Linked DNA regions of Homo sapiens: regions 1, 2, 3, 5 and 6 are each linked to region 4. The links are contacts of gene promoters, found by promoter capture Hi-C in blood cells and fetal thymus (Javierre and others, 2016). All regions are on one chromosome and are shown on one strand. Each heading gives the region's core, a stretch centred on a gene start or on the middle of the fragment in contact. The rest is flanking DNA. Distances are from core to core; before and after follow the strand shown. Region 1 overlaps TXNDC11 (thioredoxin domain containing 11). Region 2 overlaps TXNDC11 (thioredoxin domain containing 11). Region 3 overlaps CLEC16A (C-type lectin domain containing 16A). Region 4 holds the start of PRM2 (protamine 2). Region 5 overlaps CLEC16A (C-type lectin domain containing 16A). Region 6 overlaps TXNDC11 (thioredoxin domain containing 11).

Region 1 (4,389 bases), core at 302-2,801, 460 kb after region 4:
CCTGCTTTGCACACGGAAGAGTCGTCCATAGCATTCCAGAGGAGTTCAAAACGCCTGCCAAACACTGATGTTGGGGAAAACCTGTTATTATCAAAGCCCAGTACCTAGCTCCATTTTACATGTGAATCTAAAGCATGCTTTTTGTGTTCACTGAATTTTTCAGGAATGCAACTTCTATGTAAACTGAGAGCAGAAAGGGCTTTGCATAGTTCAGGATTTTACCAAGACTGTTCACCATTTAGGATAATCAATTACTAAGAGCAATGTCCATGTGGCAGGTAAGTCACCAACATATCACCTTTATCAGTCTACGTTTGTAACTATCCCATTCAGTGATTCTACATAAAGGTATATGGACCTGTTCTGACTGTGCACTTACATACTAAAATATATATCATTTAGTTACAAATTACTTTCTTCCCCCCTCACCTCTATGTTACAATCCGTGCATTAGATTATTTTGAAATTACATGTATAGGAAAACTTTATCATCTATGAATTCCTTTTTAGGAAGAAAAAGGGACATCATAAAATACTTATTTTCTAAAGCACAACTGGGGTCCACTGGGCTGAAAACCACTGCCATAACAGGTGACTTATTTGCCTATATATCTTTCTTACCTAGCCCAAAGGTGGCATTCCTTATCTGCTGAATATAGTTCTGGTCCATATATTAAAAAGGTCGGCCTTGTTACAATGCAGTCATATCATACATACATTTTCTTACCTAAAATACCTAACTAGCAAGTATCAAATGGATATGCAAGAACTAGGATTTTCAGTCCCTCTACCTTTTTCAATGCTGAAACCAAACAGTATGGCACCCCAGGATAAGCATTGGCTTGTGTTATGAGATTCAGAATCTGCTCCCACACTTGCCTTGGAGTACAATCGCCACAATTGGAAATCCTTTCTGTTGCTTTATAGAAAGCTCTGTAACTTAGAAACGACTCCTGGAGTTCACCTTGGCAAAGTCTGCCCGTTGGGCAAGGTGTCTCTGTGGGGACATCCTGCCCTACATATAGGACTGACAGTCATTTGATTCTTAAGCTGAATGTGAGCATTACCTGATCTGAAAGCCGACTTGCTGCTTGCTCAATTTCTGCCCTGGCAGCGATGGACTGTCCACACCAAGGGGCATAGAAGAAGAGCAGTACCACCTCTGAATCCCGTCGAACGTACTCTGCATAATCCAGCTGCCCCTGGAAGAGGTCAAGGACTGGAGACCTCAAGGAGAAAAAGCTGACAGGTGGCTTTGCTGGTATTATCACATCTTTTGCTCGACTAAAAAAGAGCAAACACAGAAAAGATTGCTTAGTTTATCTTCTTCTAAAAATAGCTCTGTGGAAGTAGAATGAAGCTTAAAAGGAAAATCCTCTTTTGAATAAGAAAATGGAGTCCCAAAATCACTGCCCTAGAAAGGCAACATCTGGCTGAGCAAATGCAAGACATGAATAATACGTTGGAAACAATTCTCTGAGATTCTGTCCCCTAGGTGTAGGCTGGAAGGGCAGTGGAGAGCAGAGAAGGATGTCTCTGAATAATCCATATTCCTGCTCCCCACATCCCAAAGACTTCATCCTCCTTTTTCTGCAGCCTGGCTCTCCACAAAAGCCACTTATCTCCAGGGCTTTAGAGCCACCAGCATGCAAGCTCAGAATTACGGTGAGGGAGCATGTAAACTACCATTAACAAGATTTCCACGGGAGATGCTTACAATCAACTCAACTTTGAGAAAACATTAAGCTTATTAGCTGGAGTTGGCTTGTACTTATCCAGGGCATTCAGGTAACAGTAACAATTAAACAATAATATACATTCCTCCAGATATATATCATAATCCTAAGACTAATGAAGATAAGTAACAAAGCAACAGCCTATTTAACTGGAAAATGGGCTTTTTGAACACTTGAGCTTCCCACAAGAAACAGATCAGGAGGAAAAAGAAAAGAACGCTGAACAAACAAGTGGTCAGAAGTAACTTTCCCCATCAAGACCTAAAGATCTAGGCCCAGGCTGCATCCCACCAAGTAGAAGGGCCCTAGTAAACACCCTGAGCTGTCCATGCATCTACACTCACATACCACAAACCATTAGGGCAGCTTTGCTAAGAAACAAATGAGACCCAATTATGCACTATCTAAACGAGATAAATAGAGAACATAAACATGGAAACCTAAAACGCGATGAGATTAACCCCAAAGAAAGTAAAGGAGACCAGGCGTGGTGACTCAGCCTGTAATTCCAGCACTTTGGGAGGCCGAGGCAGGCAAATCTCCTGAGGTCAGGAGTTCAAGACCAGCCTGGCCAACATGGTGAAACCCTGTCTCTACTGAAAATGAAAAAGTAGCTGGGCGTGGTGATGGGCGCCTGTAATCCCAGCTTCTCGGGAAGCTGAGACACAAGAATCGCTTGAACCCGGGAGGCGGAGGTTGCAGTGAGCCGAGATTGCACCATTGCACTCCAGCCTAGGTGACTAGAACAAAACTCCATCTAAAAAAAAAAAAAAGAAAGAAAGTAAGTAAAGGAACAAGAAAAGAACAAAAGCCAGACGGTACAAATGGAAAACAAGGAGCACGAAGGTAGACTTAAACCCAACTACCTCAACAATTACGTTAAATATAAAAGGAGAGGCCGGGCGCGGTGGCTCATGCCTGTAATTCCAGCACTGTGGGAAGCCGAGGCAGGCAGACCACGAGGTCAGGAGATCAAGACCATCCTAGCTAACATGGTGAAACCCCATCTCTACTGAAAAAAATACAAAAAATTAGCCGGGCGTGGTGGCACATACCTGTAGTCTCAGCTACTCGGGAGGCTGAGGCAGGAGAATTGTGTAGGTTGCAGTGAGCCAAGATCATGCCATTGCACTCAGCCTCGGCAACAGAGCGAGACTACGTCTCTCAAAAAAAAAAAAAAAAAAAAAAAGGAAGCAACCTAATTAGGAGGAGCAGACTGCCAGACAGGATAAAGCAAGACCCAATTATGCACTATCTAAACGAGATATATCTTAAATATAAAGACACAGGATAAAGGCATAAGGATGGGAAAAGAAAAACTATGTAAATAGTGAGCATAAGAAATCTGGCATGACTCATGAGGTAAAATGATAAACTGGGGTATATTCTTACCCATTTACTTAAATGTTACTCCACAATAAAAACGAAAAGCAAAACCTATTCATATGTACTATAACTTGGATGAGTCTCAAAATGATTATGCTGAGTGAAAAAAGTGCTAAAGAGTACATGCACTATGACTGCATTTATATGAAATTCCAGAACAGGCAGAAGTATCCAACGGAGCAAGTCACCTATTTATTCACTCAAACTAATATTTTAACCTTCAATCAGAGAGCTTTCAGTCTATGCAGAATGCCTTCATAACCTGAAAAAATCACTTACACAATTATTCAAAAATTCTTTACTGAGCAGCTGTGACTGTGCTTTGGGCACAAGCACTAAGGCTGCGGCAGCTAGCACTGCGTGTTGTCGAGGAGACCACTTTCTAGGGGAGGAAGACAGGAAAAACATCAAATGTGTAAACAATAAAAATATACTAAATGCTCACTATGTGAAAAATTTAACAAGGTGATGTACAGAAGGGCATGGTAGCTCCTCTGATGGAGTGGTGGCTTGGGAGGTGCTATAATTTAAGCTCTGAGACCTGAATGACAAGAAGATAGCCACCTAAGAGGTGGGGAGGGCACTACAGGAAAAAAAAAAAAAAGACACGTTTTCAAGAGATCCAAAATTCTGCTCTTTGGAGAAATTACTTTTCTACCATTCAAACTGCACATGGCCAAGAGTCGTGGCTCACGCCTGTAATCCCAGCACTTTGGGAGACAGAGGCGGGTGGATCACATGAGGTCAGGAGTTTAAGACCAGCCTGACCAACACCGGGAAACCCCATTTCTACTAAAAATACAAAATTAGCTGGGCATGGTGGTGCACACCTGTAATCCCAGCCACTTGGGAGGCTGAGGCAGGAGAATCGCTTGAACACGGGAGGCGGAGTTTGCAGTGAGCCAAGATCACGCCATTGCACTCCAGCCTGGGAAAAAAGAGCAAAACTCCATCTCAAAAGAAAAAAAAAATGCAATGTAAGCATCAAATAATGCAATCTGAGGAAAAATGTAGGTCTGACAGTCAACGAAAGGATAAAGAGCAACTCAGTAATTTTGCTCTGCATATTCAGAAGCATTCCTAAATGAGCCAGATAAAGTACAAGGCCAATCAAAAATCAAATATTGGCCAGGGAGAAGAAACGCTCGCCTCTACTCCATCAGAAACACTGGTGAGTTTCTATTTAACTCATCAATCTGCTTCACGCTTTAGAGAAACTATACATAGAGCAAAGATTTCCTGCAGCTATGAGGGGTATGTCTCGGGT
Region 2 (4,327 bases), core at 10-2,509, 410 kb after region 4:
GTAATTCATTCACGGTCCATAATTGGGCCATCACGTGGTTACTCTTCTATACATCAAAAACAGCTGCTCACCCCAACAACTGTAGTTTGGAAATTATTTTAAGAGGGACAGATGGCTTAACTTTTGCCTCTCATGACTCCATACCTGTTTTTGAAGGACTACTTCCCAAAAGGTATCAGTTGTCACTTCAGTGATTAAATGCTGAGACGGGAACTGGGCAGAGCCACTTCCAATGAGATGCCTTTTCAAGGGACTATAGAGAACGCTGAAGTTTTGAATAAAAGACTCTAAAAATAAAGAGAAAATGAGATCAACTCTCCTCTAGATACAAAGAGAATAGCTGGCCTACTTTTAAACTCCACATTTTAAAAACTCAAATGACTTCATAGGCTCACATTTTTAACATTTCACCTATCAGCAAAACCCCAAACAAAGCTGCCCGGGTGGCATCAGGTTTAGCTCTGGTAGTATTAACTCAGCAGACAGTAATGTGGATAACAAAACACTATGCAATGTTAGATGCTCTAATATTCATAGACTATTCTTTTTTTAAAAGGACTGGTCCACAAATAGACACCAAGTGAGACTGTATAAATCATCAACAAGCCACCATCTTTTCAAGAAATTTCACCCTATAATACTAAGACCTTTAAGCTTAACCACAAATGTGACAACTGCACAAGCTACAGTAGTGTGGAATGTGTTTAAATGCTCATTAATTTGAGGACAAGGAGCTACAGTTTTTTGTTTCCTTTATTAAGGTTCTTTAAGTTTCTTTTTTTAAAGGTTAAGAAAAAATTATATGTAGTGGAAAAATACATAAAACCCATAATAATCAAAAACCTGATTTGAACCAACAGTTTTACCACAAATTCTGCCATCTTCAGAGTCCTTTGCTTCATCTGAAACAATACTAATTTGAATTTCACTTTTTTTTTTTTTTTTAAAGAGACAGGGTCTCACTCTGTTGCCCAGGCTGGAGTACAGTGCTGCAATCATAGCTCACTGTAGCCTTAAACTCCTGGGCTCAAGCGATCCTCCTACCTCAGCCTCCAGAGTAGCTGGGACTACAGGCGTCCACCATTGCACTCAGCTAAAGTTTCAGTTCTTTTTCTTTCTTCTAACTCCCTCCATTTTGAGGTGCAATGGGCAATGCAGCGTGCAGAATGGAAGAGGAAGTGAAGAATGTCATGTGAATACTAAAGAGAATTCATGATCAGCATCTGAGAAACACTTAGTTGGCTATGTTTTTGAAACATGAAACCAAGAATTATTTCCTAATCTGAATAAAGCCTAAATTCTGAAACTAGCCTAGAGACAGCTGATTTATGAGTTAAGTCTCTAAACCAACAATGACACACAGTAGGTGTTTTTTACAAGCTCCCTAAGAATTCTGTCACTAACTGCAGGACAAAGAACAGCTAGGCTAAACATTTCAGAGAAGATACAGAAGATGGAAAGAAATCTAAAGAAGGCTTCTTTCAATTACCCTTAAATTCAAAGTGAACACATTATGAGGTCATTAAACACTTGAGCATTACTGAATGGAATTCAGGAAAATCTAATACAGACTACCTCAAAAATACATGCTTGTAGGAACACTGACCCCATTTCTCTGGAGTCTCTTTCCCATTTAAAAAAAAAATGCTTGTTTCATTTTAAGAAAGCTCAACACATCAAAATGACTTTAGATAACATGAATTGGGAGTAATCTATAATATCGACAGATTTATGCCCTTCAAAAAGTGACTGGTCACAGGGTTCTTTTACACAGTGAGGAACTCTTGGATTTATAATATGTAACTTGATATAGAAAAATCAATATTTACATAAAGCCTTTTCACAAATGTGTCTAATGTAAGAAACAAGCTTCACCTAGATTTGAAAGAGGATGGCTAAAAAGACTCATATGTAGAAGCTCTGAGTCTACTGTTGAGTTCATACTTTAAAACTTGAAATGAAAGGTTTCCTTCCCTACCAAATTCCTCCTTTCTCCATTCGGCATACACTGACCCTCCCTCCCGTTTCCAATGAGGCTGAACTAACGTGGCTTTTGAATTCTCACTTCATTGTGTGTAGTCAAGGGCATCAGCAAATTCCTGGGAACAGGCCAGGGTGGGTCAGCCCAATGTTGCTGCCAAGTCCCAGGGGCAAGCTCTGGGTGCTTTCTCATCATGGAGCCTTACTCCTCAAAAAGTGGGTTTTGCTGGTTTGCGACTGACACTTATTTATTTGCACTTTACACTTGTTACAGTGTAGGTACCCCAGGTCCCAGCAATATTACTCAGTACATTATGAAACAGCAGCAGAACAAATTAGGTCTGGTGGCCTTGATCCTTAGACATTTAAGCCTATGAGACAAAAAGGGAGGCAAGGCGGCTCTACTTCCTTCTTCACTGCTCTCTTTTTTTGGAGACGGAGTCTTGCTCTGTCGCCCAGGCTGGAGTGCAGGGGCGCGATCTCTGCTCACTGCAAGCTCTGCCTCCCAGGTTCACGACATTCTCCTGCCTCAGCCTCCCGAGTAGCTGGGACTACAGGCGCCCGCCAACGCGCCCGGCTAATTTTTTTTTTTTTTGTATTTTTAGTAGAGACGGGGTTTCACCACATTAGCCAGGATAGTCTCGATCTCCTGACCTCGTGATCCACCCGCCTCGGCCTCCCAAAGTGCTGGGATTACAGGCGTGAGCCACTGCGCCCGGCCACTGCTTTCTCTTTAAGCTCCTTTAGAACAAAGCTGCTGTCAAGGCTCACTTTCATCAGCCCCTAGGACATCCCACCAGAATAGCTCTCCACCTCCCTGCCTGTTCTAGTCCCCAAGTCCCCACTGCCTGCAGCTGGTTCTACCTTAGACATGTGACAGAAATCGCCAATTTAGAAAGTGGGACTCTTACCCCCACCATGGGCTAAATGACAAACTTATCCAAAATTCAGAGTGAGGAAGTTTCTGTTCCATTTAATAGACAAAATTAGCTTCTTTGAAAATTATGACTGATGGTGGTCTAAAGACTTAAAATGAGCTACGAAGGTGACATCACCCCACAACTAAATGTAATGAGAGCCATCAATAAAATTTACCCATATGAAGTCAAGCAAAATGTACAATGCTTGGGGAAATAAACTGCCTGCAGTACCTAGGGTGAGCTTCATCAGTGCTTGCTTTGGATCCAAGATGTAATGAGATTCTTCTTTCACGTCAACAATTGCCGCAAATTCTTTCACCTGAGTGGAGCTCGGAGCACCCAGTCTCTCTGCATATAACCAAAACAAATTTGAATCCAAAAGGTAGATGTTGAGAGTCTTGTTGGTTCTGCAGCTCAGGCCTGTGAAGTTTGTGCTAGTCATGTCCACTTCTGGAAAGAGATACCTGTTCTCCTCAATGTGAGGAACGGAGCTTGGGGCATCAACCTCACATTTCTTCTCAAGGGAAGAAAATGCAACAGTAGGGGCTTCAAAGACACCTTGTTCAGAGTCGATGAAGCCTGACACACCCCTGCTTATGGTCCTGCAACATGCAGTGTAGTAGCTGAAGGGGCTATAGGAAGTTAAAAAATTGCTGCATTCTATGCTGTCTGATGCCACATGATAAAAGGTCTGCTCCTTGAGGTAGAAAGAATCCAGAGCTGCTGCCATTTCAAAAAAGCTGCACTGTGGCACGCTGACCGAGCTCGGCTTCATGCCCCCGGAGGTCTGGTTGACACAGAGTTCACAGACGTTGTGGGTCCTGGAGAAGGAGTGCCACTGGGGCAGCACCACAGTGTTGCAGCAGGGGGACGCTGTGATCGTTGGCGGGTCTGGCAGCTGTGCCGGCACTTCCAGGGCCAGGGACTCCAGCACTGGAGCATCCACCCGCCGCAGGTGCTGAAGGAGACGCTCCACCACCTGGTCCCCATGACAGTTGTTGTACTCCAAGGCCACTTCGGTGATCTGAAATACAGGGCAGAGTTGGTGAAGGGCTTGGGGATGACTGAGGGACTAGCACCCCGTTAGCCACGTTTCACTTTCTGTAATTTCAGTTATCCATGGTCAACTCCGGTTCAAAAATACTAAATGGAAAATTCCAGAAATAAACAAGTCGTAAGTTTTAAACTACATGTCGCTCTGAGTAGTGTGATGAAATTTTTGCCATTACAAAAACTGCGAGCCATCCCTTTGTCCAGCGTGTCCATGCTGTGGATGCTGCCAGCCTGTTACTTAGTAGCCAACGCAGTTATCAGATCAACTGTCTCAGTATCACAGTGCTTGTCTTCAAGTAACCCTTTATTTATTAGAAGGGCCCCCAAAGTGTAAGGATAGTGATGCTGGCAATTCAGATATGCCAAAGAGAAGC
Region 3 (4,118 bases), core at 1,170-3,669, 330 kb before region 4:
GAATGGTCTGTCCCCGCTAAACCATGGCTGAATCCAGGTGTTTGGAGCCGTCAGAAATCGGCCTTTTTCCACCTTTCAGCTCTACCTTTTTCCTGTTGGTGTCATTTTCAGGCAGGCTGCAGGCTTACATCATATCAGCTTAGCATTCCTGAGGAAAAAGAGAGCTTCTTTTCTCAATATTGCCAGCAGAAGTCCAGAATTGAGATTGAGTATCCCTGGACCAGCAAGGTCTCATGCCACCCCTGAACTGTCACTCTGGCCAAAGGTATAGGGGGATCTGATTGGCCATTCCTCACTCATATTCCCTTCCCTGGAGCAAGAGTGGGATTAGCTCCACTCAAGCTAGTGGAAAAGAATGAGAGAAAAGAGTGGTTCCCCATGGGAGAATCAGGGGTTATTGCCCAAAGAAGGCGGAGAATGGATCCATGGCAGGTAGACAGACGCACACCTACTCTTGGTGCTTTCAAGTTTTGGCTAAGGTGGCACTGACAGTGTTAGAGCTTGGGGTACAATATTGCCATGTTGATTTTCTTAAAATATCGTCTTCACCATGCCACATATTATGGGTCCTAGGCTCCCACTATGTCACGTCTAAGTTCTTCCAGGCCTTCCCACCATCTAGTTTGGGAGCACAGGGAGTTAGGAACATCCTTGTTAGGCAGACGCTGTTTAAATGGAGACCAACGGGGTGAGTCGTTGTTACCAGGCAGCGGGGTGTCAGGTGGAAGGAAGGATGTTTCAGGCAGAGGAAAAGGCATTTGAGAAAGCCTAGTGGGGCAAGGGGAGCAGTGCACATTGGCAGAACTCACGTGGTTCAGCAGGGGAGTGTTCACTGGGTGAAGAGGAAGTGAGGACCCAAGCTCAGAGCCATGCTTGGCAGTCTCCAGAGGCCAGGTCCCCTGGGGCCCTGTAAATCACTTTAAGGAATTCAGACTATGAGTGAGAACAGTAGGGAGCCACTGAAGGTTTTTTAACTACAGAAAGGCTGTGGTCTGGCTGAAGCTGGCAGAATGGATTGGATGAGGGGCAGACTGGAGGTGGGCCTCCACATGTGTTGGTGGGGCGGGGAGCAGGGGCTCTGCTGCCGTCCCCTGGTGAGTTACGGTAGCAGCTGCTGTCATCCAGGTGTATCTCCTGTTGGTGGTCCACTCACACACATACCTCGCCTGCCCACTTGAGGTCCCCTGCTCTTTTCCTCCTGCCCATCCAAATCCCTAGCTCTATCCCGAAAATGCCAGTTCTTCCCTAAAAATTGCCCTGGTGACTTCAGCCAACAAGAGTTTTGCTGTCTTCTCTAACTTCTTCTGTGCCTGTTCACACTGTCCCACACAGTTAACACATTATTATATACTTCTCATCGCCAAAGAGTGGGTCGGCTGTTAGCTCCTGTGCGTTCTTAAAGTTTCATCTCGGCCTTGAGTTAGACCCTCAGGAAGCTGGCCGGGGTTCCTGTCCTTTGGCTATCAGACATTGTCTTCCTTTGTTACATATCTTTTTTGTTGTTTTCTCCCAATTTGAACATAAGAATCATGAAAGCCTGTATGGCTTGTTCAGCTGGGTACTGGTATGCCAGCACAGGACGTGGCAGATAGTAAGCAATCAACAAATATTTGTCACAGGATGAACGAGAGGCAGACCTCTGTTTTCAGAAAAGGCCAGTCTTTTCCCAACAACTGCTTGTTCTCCCCAGTTTAGTCACAGCACCTGTGCCACAGCCATGACTTTCTCTAGGGCTAAAGCCCTAAAGAAAGCTAGGGTATAGCCCTGCCTATACCCTACACATCCCCGGCCCAGCCTCACTTGCCGGCCCTGTTTGACATCTTTGGGGGATGATTCACCAGGGGAAGCACAGCCTGTGAACACCTTCTCTAATCCTCTAGCCTGATTCCACCCTCCGTGAAGCTTCTCCTTGTCCTGCTGGCCAGAAGGCTGAACACTGACCAGATGGTGGTTTTCAGGGCACAGAGTGGGACACACTGGGGAACGTCTGCAGGGCCTCTGCCCGAGTGCTGAACAGGCCAGACAGATACAGGCTCTGTGTCTCCCATCCCTCTACCACACCTGAGACATTGTTATTTGGAGCTGTGTGGACATTGGGGGGTAAATTTCTAACCCCCAGACCTCCTATCATTCTGCTTATCCTTTCTCATGCCCCACCTTGCAAATGTACATTTCAAAATCTTGAAGGAGGAGCATCCTAATAAGCTCATTATGGTGCAAGGCATAGCACGTGCAGAAAATGCTGTCACTGAAATGAACTTGGACCTAGTATTCCTGTCTCTGAAATGGACTGAATTGCTAATTTTTGAAGGATATGGGGCATTATTAACTGTAGTGGTTTAACCTGTGAAATTAGTGACTCTTGAGAAAGCAGAGGCTATTGAGGCCAGATTTGTTTACGTCTGTCATCCTTGGTGATGCACCTCGAGTGTGTTGGTTACAGTTTCTCTTCTCCAGGCATTTCAAACTCTGAAGCTCATCTGTCGGTGGAGAGTTAGCTAACAGGCAAAGCTCGGATATTGAGACTGCATCTGCAGAGCTCCTGCTGGGGATATGAGAATACTGGCTCTTTTCCAGACAAATGGGAGTTAGAGCCTTTTATAAGGACTTTCCATAAGATCTGATAGTATTTTCATGCCTTTTTGGTTTATCTATTTGGTGTTTTTTTAATTTATTTTTTGTGTGTTAGGCATTCATAACCTCATGTAAATTCTTGGCCAATAAAATTGTTGCTTACTTCATTGTTTGCATTTCTGTAGTCCTAGAAGGGTTGTAATCATGGGGTCTGGAGTTCAGTCTGCCTGGTTGTAACCTAGGCACCTCCTGTGCTGCACCAGGGCCCTGGGCAGATGCCTCAGCTCCCAGAGCATCATCCCCAAAGGGTCGATTGTTTCTGGGATTAAACGAAGCACTCAGACAGAGACTGGCAGTAATAGGAAGCTTCATCTGTTTTACTGAGGTACATACATAGTTTGAGAAAACACGTTGTCATTCTAACAGTGGTTATCATTGTAAGAGAAACATTTTAATTTGCTGCCGTTAAGTAGCAAGGTAATTATTCTGTCCTTTGAAACTTTTCTGAGATAAAGACACAGCTTTCCATACAAAGATGGTCATAGCAACATTGTTATCACTCACACAATTAGGAATCTTAATGCCCTTCAAAAGAGTTGCTACTGTGCTTGTCCTTTCAGTGTCATACTGTGTAGCCATTACAGATATTTGCAAACAGTTGTCAATAACCAAAAAAAGTGCTTTTGTTTTAGCTGAGGTGGGAAATAAGATTGGCACTGAAATGGATAATGCAACATGACCTCAACTATGTAAATATCCATAGCAAAGAAAAAGACCCGAGGAAATAGATTGCAACTCCAGCAGCAGTCATCTCTAGGCACCACGGTTGCCGTTTCTCTTTCATTGTTGTCAAAGTTTCCTACTTCTCTAAAGTGAATGTTACATTTATAATCAGAAGGTTTTATTAAAATGGGCCGGGTGAGTTGGCTCACACCTGTAATCCCAGCACTTTGGGAAGCCGAGGCAGGCAGATCAGTTGAGGTCTGGAGTTCAAGACCAGCCTGGCCAACATGGCTAAACCCCATCTCTACTAAAAGTACAAAAATTAGCTGGGCATGGTGGCCTGCGCCTATAAACTCAGCTACCTGGGAATCTGAGGTAGGAGAATCGCCTGAACCTAAGAGGCGGAGGCCGCAGTGAGCCAAGATCACGCCACTGCACTCCAGCCTGATGACAGAGCAAGACTCCATCTCAGAAAATGACAACAACAACAAAAAGTTATTAAAATGTTTATATCTCTGAGGTGGTTGAATTACCTAATCTTCCAAAGCCCTGGAATTAGATACACCATTAAAACATTAAATCTTAATCCATTCAGCCTTTCCCCCCATTACATTCAAGCAAATGTATATTGAGCATCTCTTCCTAAAACACTGTGTAAAACGGTGTGCCAGGGCATTGTGGGACAGAAAGACGAGCAAGGTGAAGGTGTAACCCTCATTGAGCTTTGGAGCTTGCAGTCTACTGAGTATTTCTGTATACCAGCAAAAGACATTTAGAAAATGAATATTTGAAACAATATCATTTACAATAGCATAAAAAAA
Region 4 (4,306 bases), core at 413-2,912:
TCCCCCCAGTCCTCAGTGGCTATGGTTGGCTAAGGTTGGCACTCTCCGAAGTGCCCCCTTCCTGATCCTGGAATCTATGATGTAAGGATTGTGAGATGGGGAGGTTATCTTGGGTTGTCCAGAAAGTCCCTCAGTGCAATCACAAGGGTCCTTGATTTCAGACAGGAGGGAGGAGTGATGCAGCCACAGGCCGAGGAGAGCAGGCAACAAGGATCGGATTCTGCCTGGGTCTCCAGAGGCTTCAGCCAGCACAGGCCTCACACAGCGCAGCCCATTACTCTGCATTCATCTACTCCTTGCCTTTTGCCGTCTCTGTGCTGACCAAGTTGTTGCTGGAGCATGCCAGACCTGTTTCCCACCTCGAAGCTGTGGCCTGCACTGAGCAGTGCCCCCACCTCTGCCCCCACCGTTTACACTTCCAACCACCCAACACTCAAGATGGGTTGTGTTTTTAAACTGTGGCACACAGTAGGCATTTAAATATGGCCACAAGGTGCCTTGGCATCTTTGTGACTTAATTAGGACTCGATCTGTTCTAACCATTTTCTCCTTTCATGAGGTAGGATCAGGTTCTTCACTGGAGGGGGATCCAGACAGACTAATGTGGCCTTTGACACCATGGAAGGATGCACAATAGACAGGACAGCATCATAGGGTGGCCTCCCAGGCACAGTAACCCTCTCCTAGGTGTCCTGAGAGCATCAGAACTCCCGCCCTACCTGCCTCTGAGGAAGGGCTGCAGAGAAGCCTCTACCCGCCCTGGGCGTGAGGGAAGCCAGGTTTGTGTGATTCGTGCAAAGAAAACCCGACAGGCCAGCGAGTGTCTTGTCAAGCTTTATTGGGCAGGTGACTTTTGCTCGTTTCACTCAGATCTTGTGGGCTTCTCGGCGGCAACTCAGGGCTTGAGCATTTGATGTAGGGGAGTTGCTATGGCCTCACTCGGTGTTTCTTGGGCAGGTGACTTTCTCTTAACTTCCAGCTGGGGGCTTGAGCATTTGATGTAGGGGAATTGCTATGGCCTCACTTGGTGTTTCGGGCGACTTTTTCTTAATTTCCAGCTGGGGGTGAGGGGCCCAGGAAGCTTAGTGCCTTCTGCATGTTCTCTTCCTGGTTCTGCAGCCTTTTGGGAAAGAAAGTTCTGGTTGAGGGGGTCACCTAGGGACTCTGGGTGGGGACGGGGGTTAGGGGGCTGGAGCTTTTGTCAGGTGGGGTGGGTCCCCGCCTCCCTCCTGTGCCTGGGGTGGTCAGGGACATGCAGGGCAAGGCGGGGGCGCAGGCAGACCTCTGCGATGCCTCCTCCGGTGCCTGCAGGAGCGTCTTTTGCGCCTTCTGCAGGAGCGATGCTGCCGCCTGTGGATCCGGTGCAGCCTCCTTCGAGAGCAGTGTCTGCGCCTATAGTGAGACTGGCCATGGGTCCTCTCGTAGACCTCGACGTGCTCCGGGCTCAGCCCTTGCTCCTCTTGGCCGTGGTGTCCTTGCTCTTGCCCATGCAACTGCTGCCTGTACACCTCGTGCGAGCGTTCGCTCAGGCTCCTCACGCGGTATCGGACCATGGTGTTGGGAGATCTGGTGGCTCCTGGGCTGAGGCTGCAGTGGGCCCTGGAGTAGGGGAGGAGGGCGGAGGCCTGCCCACCTGCCCTTGGTGTTACTGTTGGTCTGGTCTGCAAGGCTCCCCGGGAGCTTGTATATAAAGGGGGCGCCCACTATGACTCTGCGGCCCCGCCCAGTCCCCACCCTGCCCAGCCTCCTCTGTGAGGGCAGCACAGGGCCAGGGGTCACAACTAGCAGGGCCCTGGCACCCAAGCTGCAGGGCTGGAAGGGCGAGAGACCCCCTTGCCTTGCCTGTAAAGCATGTCCTCTGTCTCTTGCAGTAGGTGAACCATACAGATGGCAGGTGTTTTATTGCCTAATCCAAGCCCTCATCTCCCCAAGCCGGTGGGTGCGCACATTGTCATTTGGAAGCTTCCTTGCCAACTCACTGCTGTGCCACAGCCACCATGTGGAAGGGACTTCCGTGCTTGGATCTCTGTGCACACAGCTTACTGTTAAGATGGCAACAGCAGCAAACAGTTCCCTAATAGCTCCTATGTGCCAAGCATTGATTCATTTATTTCCCATACATTCACTCATTCTCTCTCTCTCTCTCTCTCTCTCTCTCTCTCCTCTTTTTGTTTTGAGGCACTGTCTGTCGCCCAGGCTGGAGTGCAGTTGTGCAATCATGGATCATAGCAGCCTCTACCCCTCCAGCTCAGATGATCCTGCCACCTCAGCCTCCCGAGTAGCTGGGACTATAGGCGTGTGCTGCCACTCCCAGCTAATTTTTTGTATTTTTTGTGGAGATAGATAGGGTTTCACCATGTTGCCCTGGCTGGTCTCACACTCCTGGCCTCAGTGAGCCTCCCATGTCGGCCTCCCAGAGTGCTGGGATTACAGGTGTGAGCCACCACCCTTGCATTCCTCACTCTTACAATCCTCATTTTCTGTGGGGCAAACAGGCATGAAGAAGTTGAGTTGCTCAAGGCCACTCTGCTGAGAAGGCCAGGCCGGGCCAGCATTCAGACGGAGACAGCCTGGTTTTAGTCATACCCTTGGCTCTCCACCTCCTCCCTAGCCCAGGGAATGCTCCCCTCTCCGCCTCCAAAATATTCATCTTCTCCCCTCCCGCTCGGCCTTGCCGGGGCTTCTCATTGAACTTTGATGATCCCATTAAAGTCCGGGATCAGAATCACAGAAACTGCAAAACCAGTTTCCCTTTCATGGAGGGCAGGGAGAATGTGGGAATGTGGCAGATACACAAATTTAAGGACTTGAAGATGCAGAGATCATCCCAGATGATCTGGGTTGGCCCAGTGCAGTCACGAGGGTCCTTAGAAGAGAGAATAGGGAGGCAGGAGGGTCACAGGAAGAGAAACTGGGAGACACCACACTGCTGGCTTTGAAGATGGAGGGAGAGGCTATAAGCCAAGGGATGCAGGCGGCCTCTAGAAGCTGGGATGGACAAGGAAATGGGTTATCCTCCCCTCGTGCATCCAGGAGGAACACAGCCCTGCTGACCCCTTGATTTTAGCCCCATGAGACTTCTTTCAGAATTCTGACCTGCAGACCTGTAAGATAATGCATTTATGTTGTTTAAAGCTACAAAATTTGTGATGATCTGTCACAGTGGCAATAAGAAACAAATTCAGGAGGCTTAATCTTCAGATCCTTACAGGAGGTGATGGGTGATATTGCCATGCCCTTGGTGTTTCTATGCTGCCTCTCTTTAGGGATAAGAAGGTCCTTTATGATGGCCCTCAAGCTCTTCGAGGGCGCGTGTTAAAAATATGAATGCTGAGGCCTTACCCTACGTCCCGCTAAGTCAAATCTCCATGGCCAAAGCTTGCAGATGAAAATAAGAAGGGGCGGGGCAGGGCTCGGTGGCTCACACCTGTAATCGTAGCACTTTGGGAGGCTGAGGCGGGTGGATCACCTGAGGTCAGAAGTTCAAGACCAGCCTAGTCAACATGGTGAAACCCTGTCTCTACTAAATATACAAAAATTAGCCGGGAGTGGTGGCGGGCGCCTGTAATCCCAGCTACTCAGGAGGCTGAGGCAGGAGAATTGCTTGAACCCAGGAGGCAGAGGTTGCAGTGAGCTGAGATGGCACCATTGCGCTCCAGCCTCGGCAACAAGGGCGAAACTTCGTCTAAAAAAATAAAATAAAATAAAATAAACATAGGAAGGGGCTGGGTGTGGTGGCTCACACCTGTAATCCCAGCACTTTGAGAGGCCGAGGTGGGAAGATCACTTGAGCCCAGGAGTTTGAGACCACCCTGGGCAACATAGTGAGGGCTCTGTCTACAAAAAATAAAAAAAATAGCCTGGGTCCATGGTGGCATGTGCCTGTAGTTCCTGCTACTCAGGAGGCTGAGATGGGAGGATTGCTTGAGCACAGATCAAGGCTGCAGTGAGCCACGTTCACACCACTGCACTCCAGCCTGGGTGACAGAGCAAGACCCTTATCTCAAAAAAAAAAAAAAAAAAGGCACACCCAGGGGTCTGCCTGTCCAGCCAAGCTGCTATCATGATCCGAGTGTGTTATGGGGAGTCATTGCTAAAGTGATCAGGGTCATGGTAGTGCCAGGGCTAGCACTGAACTCTCATGTGCTCACTTGAAAGAACATGGTTGTTGATACCCACCGTAGGTGAGTGCAGTGGCTCATGCCTGTAATCACAGCACTCTGGGAGGCCAAGGCAGGAGAATCGCTTGAGCCCAGGAGTTTGAGACCAGCCTGGGCAACATAGTGAGACCTCGTCTCTACAAAAA
Region 5 (4,620 bases), core at 1,529-4,028, 290 kb before region 4:
TGGTAGATAAGCCACACCCTGTGCTACACCCTCTTGCCTTTACATTTTAAAACAAAATAGCAGGCATGTCTAGGCCAGCTTTGCAAGACAGTTTTGAATACCCTGATTCTTAAAGCTGGTCCTCTGAACATTGGGCAACAGGTGTGGGAGCAGGGCCAGCTTAGCCCAGAGGCAGCCCTCTGATTTTGCATCCTGGCCCACCTGGGTTTGCCTCTGTCTCGTGTGATTTTCAGCCCCGTAGTTCACATACCTCCTGACGATGCTGTGGAATCCCCGTGTGCTAAAACCCACCACAGGGTCAGAGCTCCCTCCCGTGATGGAATCTCTGTGTAGCCAACCCTCTGCCAAGTCCTTGATTGGAACAAAACTCTCCGGCCCCTTCTTCTTGTATCACTAAAGTATTGGGACAGTGCCTTCTAGTCTTCTCATAACCAAATTTGACACTAAAATGCCCATGGAAAGGAAGGAGTGTGCTGGTTTGGCTGTTCTTTCCCGCATTGCTCCACTTCAGCCGGATTTGGCTTCACCCAGCCATGAGGGACAGTCTCGCATTAATGCACTTCCTTCCGAGGAAGAGCAGCCAGCCAAATAGGCAACAGTCTGAAGGAGAGACTGACCTTACAAGAGTGGAACCGAGTCCTGCTTCCTGTGGCTCATTCTTTGAATTTTGCATCGTAGGAATTGCTGCTTAATACAGGACTTAGGTAGCCCAGCCTGGTCGCTTCTGATCCAGGAAGCAAGAGGTTGAAAATACCGCACACTTTCATGCAAATCCCGTTTCTTTTTTTTCCGCCAGGTCTTCTTAATTATACATCATGCACCGCTGGTGAACTCGTTAGCTGAAGTCATTCTGAATGGTGATCTGTCTGAGATGTACGCTAAGACTGAACAGGATATTCAGAGAAGTTCTGTAAGTCATTAGCTTCGGGACTGACCTTAACAGGAAACCATTGCTCATTTTGCTAATCTGTGTGTTTCTCTAAAATCAGAAACTAACATTCTGAATATATAGCAGTGATGATGCATAAGCTGGTCCGGGATTCAGTGAACCTAATCAGAGTCTTGATTGCATACCCAAGAGAAGCTGGGATCAGGGACCACCTGGATTTGATTGATTGTGTGTTCTTAAACATGGAATTGTACCACTCCGGGCCTTAGGTTGCATATCTGTGAGACACTGTTATCGGGACACAGTGAGAAAATGCCTTATCAGAGGAACTAATGTCTACAGAAGTTGGGCGATGAACATCCATGAATGACTCAGGCCCCAGGTGAGGGCAGTAGAGAGTGGCGAGGGGTGTGGCAAATTGGAGAGTGTATGCCACCTTGGCGAGCAGCTCCTGTTCTACCCCAGGCTGCTGCTGTTCTGCAGGAATATGGATGTAGGATTACTAGGTTTTTTCATGTTTCTAGAGAAGCGGGAAAAACGCATTGTTACGTGTAATCTCTAGTTTTAAATGATCATCAAGCTTTGGACTAAGTAGCATGTTTGTGGTCTGCAGGAAGGAGCTTTGGCGTTCCATTTGGTACACTGCTGAGGGAAAACACCTGATGGCCAGTGTTGTGACTTCTCTTGAAGCTTTTCCATCTTGTCCTCTGTATATCTCTGCTGTCATCTCTCAGATCCTGCTCACATGTCCTGAGCTCCAGCTGCCTTAATCCTGGTCTGACTTGCTTTTCCCCCAGCATGTCCAGCATTTGTGCCTTTGAACCTGCGCCTTTACCGTACCTACAGCCTGGTTCCTGATGCACCTGGTTCCCTCTTTTCAAAGGTCTTACCCACTCTAAGCTCCTTATGGCAGGGATCTCACCTGTCACTGAATCAGCTGCAGTCTGGGCTGCACAAATGCTCATCTCACTTATGCGGAGCCCAGGCTGCAGCTGATTCAGTGACAGGTGAGATCCCTGCCATAAGGAGCTTAGAGTGGGTAAGTGAGATGAGCATAGTGCGTTTTATACAAGGGCTGTTTCATAAAGGTTTCCTCTCTGCAGCCAGGTGCTCAGGCAGTGGCCAGGCTGGTAAAAGGGCCAGCTCGCCCTGGGGTAGTAGATTTGCTGCCCCACCTACATGAATGGGTGGAATGTGACCCTGTGGATGAAAGGCCACCACTGCATGGAGTACAATTACAAGAGGCCCCTGCCCTTCCACTGGTTTTGGTGTATGATGGTCTGGCCAGGTCATTTTGTTATTCAGGGGAGCATTAGCGCCTCTGAAAAGCTTCCCAGAAACTCTGTCCTTGTTAGTGGTGGTGGCATTAGTGAATTGATTGGGGCCTTTTCATGGCCCCTGTCTGGCCTATCCCTTTCTTGATTCATTCAGCAGTGTTGATGGAGCTCTTTCTTTGGGCCAAGTATCATGCTAGTTCTGGGGATACACAATGTCATAAAGAGTCTGTGCCGTATTCGAGCTTTACAGTACAGTAGAGAGGTGGACATGGATCAGATATGCAAATAACTCACTGTCTTAACTCTTATAAGCGCTCTAAAGGGAAGAAGTGTTTGGTGAGAGGCTTTGGCCTAGAGGTGACAGGGGTGATGTGTTAAAGATTTTCCTAGTGGTCCATCTCATGACAACACACGGTCTGGCAAATGTACAGCTGACTCAGAGTTTATGGGGCCCTAGATATTTCTCTGCAACTTTCTTAAACTAGCGTTTGCTAAATGAATGTAAGTCACGGAAGGCTGAGTCAGCAGAATCAGCAGGGCCTCCAGTTAGAGGTGCAGAGTGCCCTGCCAGCCACCTGGTCTCGGGCAGGTTGTTTCACTCCATTTAGAAAACAGGCAGCGCAAGCCCTGCTCTAGAGAGCTGATGGAGATGGGGGCAAAATATAAAGTGCCCGCTGGGCACGGTGGCTCACCCCTGTAATCCCAGCACTTTGGGAGGCCGAGGCGGGCAGATCACCGGGTCAGGAGATCGAGACCATCCTGGCTAACACGGTGAAACCCCGTCTCTACTAAAAATACAAAAAAAATTGGCCGGGCATGGTGGCAGGCGCCTGCAGTCTCAGCTACTCGGGAGGCTGAGGCAGGAGAATGGCGTGAACCCAGGAGGCGGAGCTTGCAGTGAGCTGAGATTGCGCCACTGCACTCCAGCCTGGGCGACAGAGCAAGACTCCATCTCAAAAAAAAAAAAAAAAAAATATATATATATATATAGTGCCCATCAAGTGCCTGCTGGGTTGCAAACTGGCCACCAGACTCATTTGGTTTGGTCTTTGCAGTATTTAAAAGAAAATTTTCTGAATTGCCAACATTAAAATTTAGGAAGAAAAGTCCAGATTTTTGGAATCTTCTCCAACAGTCAGAAGATCTGGTCCCCATCAATGCACGTTTCTACGGGAAGCTTCGCAGAGCCTGCCCCCATCAGATGAGGCGTGTTTACCGTGAAACCTGCCCACTGCTAACTGGGACTACATTGATGTTAATATGTTAATAGCAACTGGAGATGTACTGGGTCCCTCGGGACTTTTTTTTTTTTTTAGTTGCATGATTTCCAAGCCTGAGGATAGCTGCCGTGGCTTCATCTCAGATTGTCTTACTGTAAGATACCCTCTGCAGTGCTGAAGCTAGACTTGTCGTTCTAAGAGATGAAACCAGAGATTGCTGGGCTCTGGGGTTTGCAGCATTGTTTATTTATTTTTATTTATTTATTTATTTTGAGATGGAGTCTCTGTCGCCCAGGCTGGAGTGCAGTGGCGTGATCTCGGCTCACTGCAGCCTCTGCCTCTGGGTTCAAGCGTCAGCCTCCCAAGTAGCTGGGATTACAGGCATGTGCCACCACGCCCAGCTAATTTTTGTATTTTTAGTAGAAATGGGCTTTCACCATGTTGGCCAGGCTGCTCTTGAACTCCTGAGCTCAACTGATCTGCCTGCCTTGGCCTCCCAAAGTGTTGGGATTACAAGTGTGAGACACTGCACCTGGCCTGCAGAATTTTTTTTTTTTTTTTTTTTTTTTTTTTTTTTTTTTGAGACTGAGTCTCGCTCTGTCGCCCAGGCTGGAGTACAGCGGCACGATCTCAGCTCACTGCAAGCTCTGCCTCCCGGGTTCACGCCATTCTCCTGCCTCAGCCTCCCAAGTAGCTGGGACTACAGGCGCCTGCCCCCACACCCGGCTCATTTTTTGTATTTTTAGTAGAGACGGGGTTTCACTATGTTAGCCAGGATGGTCTCAATCTCCTGACCTCGTGATCCACCCGCCTCAGCCTCCCAAAGTGCTGAGATTACAGGCATGAGCCGGCCTGCTGCATTTTTAGAGTTGTGATAAGAACACAACATGAGATCTACCCTTTTAACACATTTTTATTTGTATGGTTAACATTATTGTTGAGTGTAGGCACAGCATCATTCAGCAGATTTCTAGATCTCATTTATCTTGCATACTGAAACTTCAGAAGTACAATGTGCTATCCATTGCTCTGTGGAGTCACCTGCATGACTGATACTTCATACCCACTGGACAACAACTCTCCATCCCCCCAGCCCCAGCAATCACCATTCTCCTCTCTGCATGAGTTTGACAATTTTAGATACCTCGTATAAGTAGAATCGTGCAGCATTTGTCTTTGTCACTGGCTCATTTCACTTAATGTAATGTCCTCGAGATTCATCCATGTTGTCGCA
Region 6 (4,593 bases), core at 1,866-4,365, 440 kb after region 4:
CCGAGAACTGTTAAACTCAATGTCTGGTCCAAAGACCCAAGAGTTAGGTCCAAAAACCTGAGAAAATAAAGCAATCTCCAAGCCATCCTTGCTTGTCAGTCCCTTGTTTTTTCAATGCCTTTTAAAATGTCCCATACTGAGCAAGAAAACCCTATCCTTCAGATTTTTTTTTTTTGAGACAAGGTCTCACTTTCGTCACCCAGGCCAGAAAGCAGTGGCATGATCTCAGCTCACTGCAGCCCTGACTTCCTAGGTTCAAACCATCCTCCCACCTCAGCCCCTAAGTAGCTGCAACTACAGGCTAATTTTTAGTATTTTTTGTAGAGACGGGGTTTCGCCACATTGCGAAAGGTTGGTCTCAAACTCCTGAGCTCAAGAGATCCACCTGCCTCAGTCTCGCAAAGTGCTAGGATTACAGGCGTGAGCCACCGTGCCCCGCCAAGATCTTTTGATGCTGTATAAAATCTCACCATCTGGCCGCGCTCGTTGGCTCACGCCTGTAACTCCAGCACTTTGGGAGGCCGAGGTGGGCGGATCACGAGGTCGGGGATCAAGACGATGCTGGCGAAAACGGTGAAACCCCGTCTCTACTAAAAAATACAAAACATTAGCCGGGCGTGGTGGCGGGCGCCTGTAGTCCCAGCTACTCGGGAAGCTGAGGCAGGAAAATGGCGTGAACCCGGGAGGCGGAGGTTGCAGTGAGCCGAGATCGCGCGGCTGCACTCCAGCCTGGGCGACAAAGCAAGACTCCGTCTCAAAAAAAAAAAAAATTTCCAATCTGACAGAACAATACTCCAGAAAAGCTTTCTTCGCTTGGAGGAGGGCACTTTTTATGCGTACCGACTCAGTTCTACAAGCAAATCTCGGCAGCATCAGACGCCACCTGGTGGAGTACAGGGACACTACGCTGGAATCAAAGTTCTTCCTCCATTTAATACCTTTCCTCTAAAACACTATTTCCCAAAGGGAGTTCCTTAGAAAACTAATGCTACTAATGCTACAAGGTTTCCTCATCAACTGAGTTTAGGAATTCCCAAAGGTGGTAGAAGGGAGTGGAAACAATATTTTGGTTAATAGTTTAGTGTGGCCGGGCGTGGTGGCTCACGCCTGTAATCCCAGCACTTTGGGAGGCCAAAGCGGGAGGATTGCCTGAGCTCAGGAGTTCCAGACCAGCCTGGGCAACACAGTGAAACCCCGTCTCTACTAAAATACACAAAAATCAGCCAGGCCTAGTGGCGTGTGCCTGTAGTCCCAGCTACTCGAGAAGCTGAGGCAGGAGAATTGCTTGAACCCGGGAGGCGGAGGTTGCAGTGAGCAGAGAACGGATGTCTCAAAAACAAAACAAAACAAAACAAAACAAAAAAATAGTTTAGTGTATTTCCAAGATGGTATTTAGGTACCATGTGAATTTCAATTTGATCTCTACAAAAAAAAATTGTTGTAACTTGCTGGTGTGTTGGTGCACACCTGTAGTTCTAGCTACTCAGAAGGCTGAGGCAGAATCTGATTGCTTGAGCCCATGAGTTCAAGGTTACCACTGCGTTCCAGCCTGGGCAACAAAGTGAGACCCTGTCACGGCAAAAAAAAAAAAAAAAAGAATGAACCAGGCAGGGAAATTCCTACACTATGGTCTATTGAGCCTGAAGGGCCAGGCACAAGAAGTGGAGAAGGTAGTGAGAGGGGATCCAAAGTGACATTTAAAATCCCGTAGCTAAAATCTTTCTCACGCGTCCTTTACCAGTCATACATTCACCAAGCACGGTGTGGAGCTGTAGGAGCAACAAAACAAAACCCTGCCATCAAGGTCCTCAGTAAATATTATCTGAAAAATTAGCTCCTATTCTGGTGGCAGAGAGATTCAGTCCATTGGACAGGGAGAAAACCATGCGTTACAAATAGAAGCAGGTAGGAGGTGCACGGGAAAGGGGAAGAGAAAGACTGGGCCTGCTGGTCAGTCAATGACATCATTTCTTGTGTGGATTTTTTCACTAGAATAGGTAAAATACTTATCTGAGGTGCTTTCAACCAGATGGCTTAGTTTCTAATTAAGGTATAAAGACTATTATTTTACTTGCACGCAAAGTATTTCTTTACTCGCTTTATTACTTTACTCACACACAAAGTATTTCATGATTTGACCTTATAAAATAAGGATTTATATACTTACCTCTACCCTCCCCAAATTTAAAGATAAACAAACACAAACACAGAAAGGTTAAATATTTTGTTCCAAGTTTACAGACCTCACCAGGAGCAGACAAAGGGTAAGGACCAGGCATTGCTGCCTCCCAGCCCACTGCTTTTCTCCCTAGACTGCACTGCAAGTCCTTTTGTAGATCAGATGAAAAATGGGGTCAAAATTTGCTGCAAATCTTCTCTTTTAAAAAAGCCACTGAATTATAGCAGAGTATGACAAAATGTTACCAGAACACATTTTTACAGCAAATAATGAAATAATCATCAGATTTTTAAAAATCAAGCAAGCAACTTCAGAATATGACCCCTCTACCAAATTTTCTTTTGGCAATAAAGTAGCCTCTCTGCCAAGATCAAATGTAAAAATGTTACAAGAGGAACAGGCTTTGCAGTCCTGGAGGAGTAAAGTACAAGAGAGCTGATTTCCTCCAGGCTTTTGAAACATATACAAAGATTGCCAGCCCACAATTAATCATCTAGCACTGTGAAATGATTAAACATTAATGAGAGATATGTAAGACCTACTATAAAAAATTAAAAGGAAGTTTTGAATAAATGAATAATCATGCTGTGCACCTAGAAAGGAAAGCTAAATGTTATGAACATGTCAATTATCTTCAAGTCAATTTATATATTTAACATAATTTCAACAAAATTCCAGCCAAAGGCACGGATGGACATAAAAGAATATTCCACAAAACACAAGAACTACAAGAAGTCCAGACTTGACCAAGTAATAACAATTTACAAAGTAAGAACTTAGATTATGTTTACTCAGACAAAAATAGGTATCCAGACCAAAAGAAATCACAGAAATAGACCCAAATCCATGGAAAAATATGTTCTGTAGTTAAAGCAGGCATCATCAAGATTAGAAAGAAAGGAAACATCATTTTATAAATGAGAGAGGGAAAAATCAACTGTGCTCTATATTTTAAGCCAAAGTAAAGCCAGGGAGCATAAAGTGCTAAATAATTTTTAAATTTAAAAAAGAAGAAAATAAACTAATATAGTCATCAGATTTTCAGGAAAAAAAAAAAAAAAGCAAGAAAAACTAACCAGAAGGCCAGGCGCAGTGGCTTATGCCTGTAATCCCAGCACTTTAGGAGGCCGAGGCAGGTGGATCACTTGAGGTCAGGAGTTTGAGACCAGCCTGGCCAACATGGCAAAAAGCTGTCTGTACTAACGGTACAAAAATTAGGCGGGCGTGGTAGTGGGCGCAGTAGTGGGCGCCTGTAGTCCTAGCTACTTAGGAGGCTGAGGCATGAGAATCCCTTGAACCTGGGCGGAGGTTGCAGTGAGCTGAGATCATGCCACTGCACTCCAGCCTGGGCAAAAGAGCGAGACTCCAAATGAAAAAAAAAAAAAAAAAAAAAAGAACCAGAGATTTAACTTTTTTTTAAAGAAAATACGAAAGCACTACATAAATAATAATAACAGAAGTAAAAAAGGCTAACACAGGCTGGGCGCAGTGGCTCACGCCTGTAATCCCAGCACTTTGGGAGGCCGAAGCGGGCGGATCATGAGGTCAGGAGTTCAAGAACAGCCTGGCCAACATGGTGAAACCCCGTCTCTACTAAAAATACAAAAAATAAGCTGGGCGTGGTGGCAGGCGCCTGTAATCCCAGCTACTCGGGAGGCTGAGGCAGGAGAATCACCTGAACCTCGGAGGCAGAGGTTGCAGTGAGCAGAGATTTCGCCACTGCACTCCAGCCTGAACGACAGAGAGAGACTCTGTCTCAAAAAAAAAAAAGAAAGGCTAATACAATAATGGACAGAAATATGCACAAGAGTTCCTGTCCACAACACCTTAACAGGTGGACCAAGGTAAACTGACAGATCAGCACTGAGGCCGAGCCCTGGAGAAAAAAGGAAACAGTTAAAACAACAAGAGAAGGCAGTTACTATTAGAGTGCTGAGGTGGTAAGTGAATTTCCTTTCTTTTAATGTGTAAAAATAGCAAATGTTTGACAAGTTGCGTTAAGTGGGGGGTAAAGGACCACAGAACCCGATCTTATAACCCAAGCCTCGCATGCTGGGGGCCAGGAATAAGCTCTCCTCACAGCACACCCTACAGCCCTGTGATGCTTCAGACATGGTACTCTCGCAAATTATTTATGCACTGATGACCAGCTAGCTTCAAAAAACAAATGTAGAACTTTGAAGTGGCCTGGCTATTTCTAAGACAATTTAAAAAAAAATCATTAAGGCAGGGGAAAGGCATGTGTATTGTATAAATGCTGGTAGCCAGCTGAACCAAGGCATCTGCTTTCTACTACAACAGTCTAAACACTTCTTCAGTTCAGTTCTCTATAACTAAATGTTATATGTGTCAAATGTTTCTCCAGCCTTGATCTGTACATACAATCTAAACATGACATTGACCTAGAATTTAAT

The links. The method cuts DNA at HindIII sites, captures the fragments that hold promoters and counts their contacts. A CHiCAGO score of 5 or more calls a contact.
Region 1: a contact is called between a fragment that was not itself captured here and the fragment with the promoter of PRM2 in region 4, in 1 of 17 cell types (activated CD4 T cells). The highest score is 5.3, in activated CD4 T cells.
Region 2: a fragment that was not itself captured here is called in contact with the fragment with the promoter of PRM2 in region 4 in 4 of 17 cell types (activated CD4 T cells, naive CD4 T cells, megakaryocytes and 1 more); the score reaches 7.7 in activated CD4 T cells.
Region 3: a fragment that was not itself captured here is called in contact with the fragment with the promoter of PRM2 in region 4 in 14 of 17 cell types (activated CD4 T cells, naive CD8 T cells, megakaryocytes and 11 more); the score reaches 14.1 in activated CD4 T cells.
Region 5: a contact is called between a fragment that was not itself captured here and the fragment with the promoter of PRM2 in region 4, in 16 of 17 cell types (activated CD4 T cells, naive CD8 T cells, naive CD4 T cells and 13 more). The highest score is 20.0, in activated CD4 T cells.
Region 6: a contact is called between a fragment that was not itself captured here and the fragment with the promoter of PRM2 in region 4, in 4 of 17 cell types (activated CD4 T cells, naive CD8 T cells, total CD4 T cells and 1 more). The highest score is 6.7, in activated CD4 T cells.

Annotation. Positions count from the first base shown.
Region 1 is chr16:11,734,950-11,739,338 of GRCh38, forward strand. It overlaps TXNDC11 (thioredoxin domain containing 11), which reads right to left. Exons shown (of 12, transcript NM_015914.7): 2 at 1,068-1,284. Among named protein-coding and RNA genes, the nearest start is that of TXNDC11, 5.7 kb to the right of the region's middle. The HindIII fragment of the contact is 386 bases long and covers 1,359-1,744 here.
Region 2 is chr16:11,688,159-11,692,485 of GRCh38, forward strand. TXNDC11 (thioredoxin domain containing 11) reads right to left here. Exons shown (of 12, transcript NM_015914.7): 8 at 3,132-3,924; 9 at 145-287. Among named protein-coding and RNA genes, the nearest start is that of SNN, 22 kb to the left of the region's middle. The HindIII fragment of the contact is 1,215 bases long and covers 653-1,867 here.
Region 3 is chr16:10,948,726-10,952,843 of GRCh38, forward strand. The region is part of intron 1 of CLEC16A (C-type lectin domain containing 16A); the gene reads left to right. Among named protein-coding and RNA genes, the nearest start is that of CLEC16A, 6.2 kb to the left of the region's middle. RefSeq lists an enhancer at 839-988. The HindIII fragment of the contact is 1,038 bases long and covers 1,901-2,938 here.
Region 4 is chr16:11,274,818-11,279,123 of GRCh38, forward strand. It overlaps PRM2 (protamine 2), which reads right to left and starts at 1,663. Exons shown (of 2, transcript NM_002762.4): 1 at 1,283-1,663; 2 at 822-1,120. The coding sequence starts at 1,553. The coding sequence ends at 1,083. The region is part of intron 1 of LOC105371082 (a long non-coding RNA gene); the gene reads left to right. The HindIII fragment of the contact is 881 bases long and covers 1,080-1,960 here.
Region 5 is chr16:10,982,082-10,986,701 of GRCh38, forward strand. CLEC16A (C-type lectin domain containing 16A) reads left to right here. Exons shown (of 24, transcript NM_015226.3): 10 at 797-910. Among named protein-coding and RNA genes, the nearest start is that of CLEC16A, 40 kb to the left of the region's middle. The HindIII fragment of the contact is 1,125 bases long and covers 2,217-3,341 here.
Region 6 is chr16:11,713,884-11,718,476 of GRCh38, forward strand. All of the region lies in intron 5 of TXNDC11 (thioredoxin domain containing 11), which reads right to left. Among named protein-coding and RNA genes, the nearest start is that of TXNDC11, 27 kb to the right of the region's middle. The HindIII fragment of the contact is 4,629 bases long and covers 802-4,593 here.